Regions from separate parts of the Homo sapiens genome. Here region 1 is linked to region 2. The links are contacts of gene promoters, found by promoter capture Hi-C in human tissues and cell types (Jung and others, 2019). All regions are on one chromosome and are shown on one strand. The core of a region is centred on a gene start or on the middle of the fragment in contact, and the rest is flanking DNA. Distances in the headings are between cores, read along the strand shown. Region 1 overlaps MBTD1 (mbt domain containing 1). Region 2 holds the start of TOB1 (transducer of ERBB2, 1).

Region 1 (4,686 bases), core at 385-2,884, 350 kb after region 2:
GCTCATACCTGTAATCCCAGCATTTTGGGAGGCAAAGGTGGGAGGACTGCTTGATGCCAGGAGTTTGACACCAGCCTGGGCAACACAGCGAGACCATGTCTTTACAAAAAAATTTAAAAAATAAATAAATATAAAAGAAAATTAGTATTTATAAGAGAAGACTAGTACTTCTCCCTGTTTAAAATAACTTCAAACTGCAATTTCTCTATAGGAAACTTGTACTTACAAAACTTACAGAAGTTCTTGTTAACTATTATTAAGTATAATAATAAAAGAAGCATTTCAGTTACAAGACATAAAAACAAACACCTTCTAAGGATAAGATGCTTAGGTGTTATTGTACCTTCAGATTTAAACAATGACTAAGTACTTCAAAATAAGGTGAGAAATTCTGTACTTACATGTTTAAAACAGGTAACCGGAGCTGCTATAAAGCTATTGCTATTGATGTAGTTACCCCAGCTGAAACCTTCCATGGAGACTGCTAAAATGAAACAAATTTAGATGTATTATAATTCTCAAATCTTTTATTTATAAGAAGGTTATCATTGTTAAAATGTGTGAAAGGACATAAAATTAATTTATCCCATTTAAAGAACGTTTTCTTTATGTAAAGATCAAATAACTTCTCTAAATAGCATGAGCTTTGGCTTATATCATATTTGCAAACAAACAGGAGTTTCTTTATGTTTTTGAGACTGAGTCTCCCTCTGACACCTAGGCTGGAGTGCAGTGGCATGATCTTGGCTCACTGGAACTTCTGCTTCCCAGGTTCAAGTGATTCTCCTGCCTCAGCCTCCCGAGCATCTGGGACTACAGGTGCATGCCACCACACCCAGCTAATTTTTGTATTTTTAGTAGAGACGGGGTTTCACCATATTGGCCAGGCTGGTCTTCAACTCCTGACCTCGTGATCCACCTGTCTTGGCCCTGGGATTACAGGTGTGAGCCACCACGCCTGGCCAGGAGTTTCTTAACTGTTCTATACATGACACATGCTCCTGAGGAAGTGAGGTACAAGCTCTTTGGTTAAGGGGAACAAAGAGAAGTTGAGAGAAGTGTACAGAATGACAAACACTGTTGTGGCTGCTTTTGTGCTTTTATTTCCATTCAGTTCTTGCCATGTACCTCAGTGAGATACCTACCCCATATCACTTTTAATTACCTCACTTTCTATTTACTTCTATTTACTCACTTATTGCCTCTTCTATTTACTCACTTATTGCCCTTCTCACTATTTACTCTCTTATTGCTCTCCTCATTATTTACTCACTTATTGCTTCACTTTCTATTTACTTCTATTAAAAATCTTCTGGCTGGGCGCTGTGGCTCACACCTGTATTCCCAGCACTTTGGGAGGCTGAGGTGGGTGGATCATTTGAGGTCTGGAGTTCTAGACCAGCCTGGCCAACATGGTGAAACCCTATCTCTACTAAAAATACAAAAATAAGCCAAGTGTGGTGGCGTGCGCCTGTAGTCTCAGCTACTTGGGAGGCTGAGACATGAGAATTGTTCGAACCCATGAGGCAGAGGTTACAGTGAGCCGAGATCACGCCACTGAACTCTAGCCTGAGTGACAGAGCAAGACTCTGTCTCCAAAAAAAAAAAAAAAAAAAAAAAAAAATCTATTGGAAATGGTCCTTTCCTTAATCTCCTCTTACTACTCTTCTTCCCTCAATCCCTTTGAAGCCTGCTGAACATCCCATTTCTTTGCCTAATATCTTCACAATTCAAAGAATCTGTACATGAAAAGTAAATAATAAACCAAATAAAAACATTAAGGAGACTGCCAAAAGCACTTGAACTTATGCATGCAACTATACTCTTCTAGAGTAATTTATTGAAATCAAAACAACTATTAGGAAGCTTAGAGCTGTAATGTGCTGACAGGACATAGAAACAGCTAGTTAAACAGAATTCAAAATTACAATGTCATTAATTAAAACTAAATGAATCAATGTCATATATTTCACCTCTGTCAGATTCACCAATATTACCTGCTTTTGTCTTTGCTTGATTTTGCAAGGTAGCTTGATACTGAGCATATGCGGCTAGCTTAGCAACTAAAGGTTGTTTCTGAAGAACTTTTGCTTTCTTTGTTGGAGGCTTACCCTAAAACAAGAAAAGTTAAGTAAATAGGATTCTTTTTCATCCCCTCACCACCACAATTTAACTGGACTGCATACTACACATTCTGCTTAAGTAAACATTGAGGGTTTAGAAAATTATTAAAGCAGAGGAAACATACAAGAATTTTAACATGAGAATTTTTTTCTGGAGTTCTGCTACAATGTAGTTATCTAATATGGGTAGCAGAGCTGGCATAGACTACAACAGCAATATGCAAATTAATATGTTAATAAAAAATTATATCCCACAAGATGTTAAAATATAGGCTGTGGTGGATACTTGATTCCTTCTTACAGTAGATAGAACCAGTGGTTATTTACTCATGCAGGTTGCCAAGCATTGCTATTTATATGGTAAGAGAAGATAATTTAATGTTCAAAGAGCAAGTGACTGAGGTTTATACCTTTAGTGCTAACGCAAAAGATCAATGACAAAATGATCATGGGCCAAATTCACAGTGTGACAAACTGCCATCCATTTGGGTACAGACCACTGCTCAGGATCTTTAGGTACTGTCTATCTGAAATATAGAAATACATCTAAGTGATGTATTTCCTTAATTTGGAGGATTTAAATAACCCTTTCAGTGCTATGTAATGATCACAATAATAAATTAAATGAGAAGACTGTGATCATCCAATAAAAATACTGCAAAAATCAGTTAAGTTAATGCCTTTAAAAAGTAGTTTACAATACAATAGTAAGAACTTAGTCAAATGGTCAAGTCTCCAGTCATTTTGTAGGCACTGATGTACATTTAAAGCAAGACGATTTTCTTTCCATACCATGAGCGTTGTCAAAAAGGTTAGTTGGATTAACCAAATACATTTGGTCAATGTATCAAATGGATTGTACTAAAAAGTACAAAGCGAGGACGATGAGAAAATAAAACCAGAGATTAAATTATTTCCCCCCAAATGTTGAAAGATTCTACCTTGATGTTAACACAAAAGGAAACAAGGGGAAACAGGAAAATGTCTTCAATTTCTGTATATAAAAAAGTGTTTATACTTATTTGGAAAAAGGATATTTTAATTAACTTCTGCAAATAATAGTTTATTTGGATAGTATGCCTTATCCATTTAAAATAGTTTTTCAATTTTATAGGCTGAACAAACTTTGGGGCTCACATGTTTCCTCAAGATGTGGTATAAAACCATAACTGAGTGGGCAGAGGTGGAGTACAGTGAATCACAGTCAAATGACAGATAAATGGCAAAAGCCATAGAAATAATGGATATAAGTAAGAAAGTTTCTGTACCGTTACCTGAAGTCTGGCCAAAATGCTTGCCTTCTTGGAGTTTGACGAGTAACTTCTTGAACATGAAACGCTACAGAAACGCTTTGTTTTAGAGTAAAAAGCATCTCGGACGCCAACCATCCCACACATCTCACAGGTAGCTAATTAACAAAATAAAAACACTGGTGTTATGATGATATAATAAAATCAATCTTCATCTAACAGTTTAAATAATTTCTCCTGCCATCTGAAAGTTTTAATTAAAAAATTTGCCTTGAACATTTCTTCTATCTCCTATACAAATGATAAAGAAGCCTGCACAGAGAAGTCAGAGAGAACACTGGTATTGTGCCATGGTGATGGGCTCTATAAGGTCTGATAGTGGCTTGAGGTCTGAAAGGTTTACAAAGGGTCAACAGAAACAGGGCAGATACGCTGGATTCAACCAACATTTCCTTAGTGCTTACCATGTGCCAGGCATTTTCATATACAACAAATTCCAGCTTTTGAAATGATTACACTTGAAAGATGAAAAGTGCCACACAACTGAGGATTAATAACAAAGTATAACACAGGCCTTTAAAATACTGCAAAGGTTGAAACTTAAAAAGAGGTAATACTTGGAAAAATGCTAAGAGCTGTATGAGGATTCCTTCAAGTTATGTTTAGGGGACAAAAAAAAGGAATGGGTTCAAAGTTTGAGGTAGAGGCCAGGTGTAGTGACTCATGCCAGTAATCCCAGAACTTTGGGAGGCCGAGGCAGGAGAACTGGCTCAAGGCCAGGAGTATGGGACCAGCCTGGGCAAGATAGCAAGATCCAGTATCTTCAAAAAATAAAAATAAAAAAGAGCCAGGCATGGTAGCACACACCTGTAGTCCCAGCTATTCAGGAGGCTGAGGCGGGAGGACTGCTTAAGTCCAGGAGTTCAGGGTTACAGTGAGCTATGATCGCACCACTGCACTCTCGCCTGGACAACAGAAGGAGATCCTGAATCAAAAACAAAAAACAAAACAAAACAAACAAACAAAAAACAAAACAAGTTTGACGTAGGTGCTCTATTATTAATCAGTGATAGTGGGAAACAGCAGAACTCTTGGCTACTATTGCATAATAGACAATAATTTGAAAGGTAGAATTAGAACAAGGTTCACAAGAATTGAAGTTTAAAAAAGATAAACAAAAAGTAACATAGCAAATAACTGCCTTAGTGAGTTAAAGCCTCCACCCAAACAGGTAAACTGGAGAAGCCTGTAGTGTAACTGGTACGGTTGGCTCTGTGCTTCCATGGGTTCTGTATCTGTGGATTCAACCAAAA
Region 2 (4,416 bases), core at 521-3,020:
ACCAACTTAGAAGTGAATCCATGTTTTAGTTTACTTTGGATATATACTGTTTAAATCTGCTCTGTCACTGACATTTAAAAATTTGGTTACGTTAGGAAGATCATTTTAATTTCCATAGTACATGATGCTAAAATTAAAGACACTGAGTACTAAATGAACTTCATCCTAGTAAATAATTATGAACCAAATTATTCTATATAGTTTCGGCCTTAAGTATACTAAGAGCATACAATATAATAAAATCCAGCTTCTCTGGGCCTTTTGTTTTCAATGTGTATTTTTCTAAATCTGAAAATACCTATTCGGCAGCAAGTATAACAAAAGCAAAGACACAAATTAAAACTATTGATTATTCTGTTTAAGGCCAGGGTTTCTGAGTTTTAGTCTGATTTTAAAAAACCTCCGTCTGTCCCTCTCTCCCTCCCTCCCTCTCACGGTAACAGCCGGAGAGGCAAGTATGGTAAGGTCGACCTTTAAACGTTTGCTGGATCAGCACTGGGTGGGGATAAGAAAAGATCAAGGGCAAACAGAAGATATTTGCGAAAGGGATCTATTTGCACACTGAAGTTGATTTAAAAGTACGTTTAAAAATCAAGTTGGTCTTAATTCGTCTGTTCTATTTTCCATATTCGTGGTGACAAAGGGAAAAAGAATCTCTGGCTGCCCCCAAACTACAAACACTTTCCAAGTCAAAAGCCTGAGTGCCGGCAGAGGCAGCTGATTAAGCCCAATTGCTTGAAGGTGCAGCCGAGCGAAATTCAGGCTCGGTGGAAGGTAGTTACAAAGCAACGCCTTAAGACAGGCAGGAGTGTGAAGAATTACATAAACAGCCAGTTAGATCTCATTAGATTTCTGCTCACAGCCCTCGGAGCCCAAGCGCTACAGCAGCAGCAACAGCAAGAGGAGGTGGAGGTGGAGGAGGAAGAGAGTACGAGCCTCCTCGGAGAAGGAGGAGGAAGGCCCGGGAAATGGAAGAGCAACCTCTCCCGGCTGGGCACCCAGCACCGAGCAGGTCGGGGCGCCGGGTCAGCCGCTCCCCTCCCCCGCCGTAACCCGACCCGCTGCTCCCCGCCCCGTGGCCCCCGCCCCGGGCTCCTGGGAGCCGGCCAGAGCCTGGGGGAGCACCGGTTCCTCGGCACCATTTTCAGCCTCGCGGCCACCGGCCCCTCGAACCCCAGCGTTCCACCGCGAGCTCGTCGCTCCTCCGGGCACCCCAACCCCCCAATTCCCGTCAGCTCGCCCCGGGCCGCCCGTCCCCGGCCAACTGCCCAGGACGAGCCCGACGCGCCGGCGGCCCCTCGGAGCCGCTCCCCTCGGGTCCTGGCGCTGCCCCCTCGGCGCCCAGGGCCGCGACCCCGCCGTCCCCGAGCTCCCGAGGGCCCAGGGCTCGACGCCGCTGCAGCCCCTCCTCCGCCGCCTGGGCCCGGGGCTCCCGTCTCCTCGCCGACCCCGCCCGGCGCCCCGAGATACTTACGGGCTGCTTCGGGGCGGCTTGGACCACAGACCCGCGGCTGGGCGGGGAGCAGCGCGGCAGGGCGGGGGCGCGGGAGGGTCGGGAGCGGCGAGCTCGCCGAGTGCAAGACGTTGCCGCTGCGGGGCTGAGGACAGAGGACAGAGGCCTCGGGCAGGCCTTGGGAGATCGCCGTTAGTGGCTCGGGGTGGCGGGCACGGGGGTCAGACGAGCGCGCTCACTTCTCCACACAGCCCGGTGCCCGGCCCAGCGTCCCCGTAGTGCGCCCGCTACACGCCGGGCCAGAGCTTCGCTCCTTCTGCCGCGGCGCGCGCCCCGCCTCTCGTTTTATGGCCTCCTCCCCGCCCCCATCCCCTCCGTCGGGGTGCGCGCGCCCGCTCCGCGTCACACAGCTCCGGCGGCGCAGCCATTCCCCGCGCTCCCCGCCCGGCACCCCGGTCCCCCGCCGGCCGGCTCCGCCCCTGCCCTGCCCCCCGACGCCATTGGCCAAGTCCCGCCTGCCCCTGTCCGGACGCGCGGCGGACGCAGGGGTGGGGAAGCCGCACCCTCCGGGCTCCAGGAGGGCCAATGAACCGACGATCGGAGCACTGGGGACGGAATGAAGAGAACGTCTGGAAAGGGACTGTGGGGGCAGACGTGCCAATGAGAGAGAAAGGGGTGGGGTAGGGCGGCTGACGCCCGGTTTAGGCGGAGAGCGCCGGGCAGAGGGGGAGGGGGACGAAGCTGGTGGCGAAGCGGCTCAGGAGAACCGGGGCTGGAGGAGCGGCAAGAGTACCCAGAAAGTGCCCTCTCCGCGGGGGTCTGCGGCCAAGGAGGATCCTGCTCGTGGAATAGCTACCAAATCGGCCTCCAGCCCACCCCAGGGGCGGGGTAGAGAAAGGGCAAACTGTGACCGGGACTTGTGCACCCGATTAATTGAATATTAATCACCCCAAGGCCTAGGCCAACCGCCACCCAGAGAGTGGCAGCTGCAGAACCCAAAGACGTGGAGCCGGGCTGGGGGTGGGGAAGGGAGGCCGCCACAGCTCCCGCCCCGCCGGCAGTTTAACTGCTTCCGCAGCCTCAGGCCTCCCGGTGCGACCCCGGCTGCGACTCGGATCCGTTTATTCCAAATGTCCCAGCCCACGCCGTGCCCAGAGTGTGGCGACACGAGGCCAAACTGCGTATGTATCTGTGTCCATGTCTACACACACACGCATGCGTGCATTTCTAGGGCTTGCTGGATCGCAGGTGCACAGAATAAACGCGGTGCCTGCTTGTAAAGCGCGTTTAAGATCATTCTTGGCTGAAATATGTGCGGGTACCTAGGGAGTGGGGTAAGAGAGGGACTCGTGGTGGGGGGCGGGTAAGTGCCTTTTTCACAACCTGCCCCAGAGAAATACACGAAATTACATCGGGAGTGGAATCGAGCGTCCCTCTCAGCTAAAAATATTACTCACAGGTAGCAACGACGCCTGATTGGCTGCGCTGGTCCCTTCGCAACGAGGCGATTGGCTGCCTGGTATCCAGGAGACCGACGTCAAACTCGGACTGGGAAAAGGGGAAAGTCTGGGGGGAGCGAAGGAGGGGACGGGGAGAAAGAAGCAATGAATGAAACGCCCATCGCCTGGCCTTCCCCTTTCCCCTTTCCCCTCTCCTCTCCATTCTTGGAGCACTTCCTGGAAAAACACCAGTTGGGGCGCCGCCTTCCCCTCCAAACGTTGGGGCCTGCACTCTCAACCTGCTATAAGGAAGTTAAACCGCAGCTCACCGAGGAGTAGGGTGTCTACGGGGCGGGCCCGTGTAGACCAGCTGTGCTCCTCGGGCACAAACCCGCCGTACATGCCAGGCCTAGAAGCTTTTGGCTTTGTGGACGCAAAATCTGGTTGGAGCCGCCTTCTCCACCCTGACTCTCCCGCCTCTCCTTTTTAGAAGGAACCGCACTGAGAAAGGGTATTTCTGAAGGCTCAATGCGTAGGAGAAGGGGTGGGAAGATGGGTTTGTGGAATGGGCTGAGGGTGGGGAGTGGTCAGGTGACTGATTTCATGTTTATTGTACAGATTCCTAAAACATAGTTTTACTAAGTGACTCCTTAAATTCTGATTAATGTGATTTTTTTTTTTTTTTGAGTGTTTGGGTTTTTTAGTTGCAAACAGGAGTGGAATTGAAATGTGAAAGTATGGCAAAACTGTGAAAGCATTTAAATTAAAATGTCCCTTCCTCTGCATTGAAATGTCATCAAAGCGTCAAATATAAATGATTTGTTCAGTTTTCTTTTTTTATTTGTTTGTTTTTGGTTTTCTGTAATGACAAGTCCATCTGTAATAAAAGTGAGTTATTTTTAGTTTTCTAATTAAGCACAGAAATTTCAAGAAACTAGACAGGATATCCTTGGAATGCCTTACCAAAAGAAACACTTCATTTTTCACGTGTTCTAGAAGCACAACTTCTTTTACCATTAGGCAAATAATGGTACTGTACCAAACATCTAGAACTGCGGGACCATGTGTCTTGATTAGTAATTTTATATTGGGGGGGCATATTAGGCATGGCTGAGACTAAAATGTCTAAAGATAGATGAATTGTAATTTTGTCAAACTTATCTGTACTTTTCAATAATTCTCTAAAGAGAAGGGACAAGTTCTCTTTTCTGAATGTCTTCAATCTGTAATTCCAGATTTGAAATATGAGAGCAGTCATCTGATAGGTACTGATTAAATATCAGTAGCATTAAAAGCATTTTTAAGTCAGAAATGTAGATGTCAAAAATTTATGAGTTATTGCTGCTTGGCCTAGGAGTGTAAGAAGATGTCTGACCAAATATAAACACACACACACACACCACACAAACAACACACACGGAGGCCCCATGGCATACTGGAAAAAGCAATGAAGGGTGGGTACTGGGAGGTCTGAGTTTCACACCAGTTTCAATAAACTTTTAGTTTTCTCACCTATAAAAAGGG

Evidence for each region. Contacts are between HindIII fragments. The study calls those that stand out against the background at their distance.
Region 1: a fragment that was not itself captured here is called in contact with the fragment with the promoter of TOB1 in region 2 in 1 of the 25 tissues and cell types used here (lymphoblastoid cells).

The regions. Positions count from the first base shown.
Region 1 is chr17:51,216,933-51,221,618 of GRCh38, forward strand. It overlaps MBTD1 (mbt domain containing 1), which reads right to left. Exons shown (of 17, transcript NM_017643.3): 4 at 3,398-3,531; 5 at 1,998-2,112; 6 at 402-484. Among named protein-coding and RNA genes, the nearest start is that of MBTD1, 41 kb to the right of the region's middle. The HindIII fragment of the contact is 3,892 bases long and covers 1-3,580 here.
Region 2 is chr17:50,864,584-50,868,999 of GRCh38, forward strand. TOB1 (transducer of ERBB2, 1) reads right to left here and starts at 1,771. Exons shown (of 2, transcript NM_005749.4): 1 at 1,475-1,771. TOB1-AS1 (TOB1 antisense RNA 1) reads left to right here and starts at 2,096. Exons shown (of 2, transcript NR_038458.1): 1 at 2,096-2,634; 2 at 2,913-3,788. RefSeq lists an enhancer at 387-436 and silencers at 977-1,586, 1,597-2,106. The HindIII fragment of the contact is 8,365 bases long and covers 1,343-4,416 here.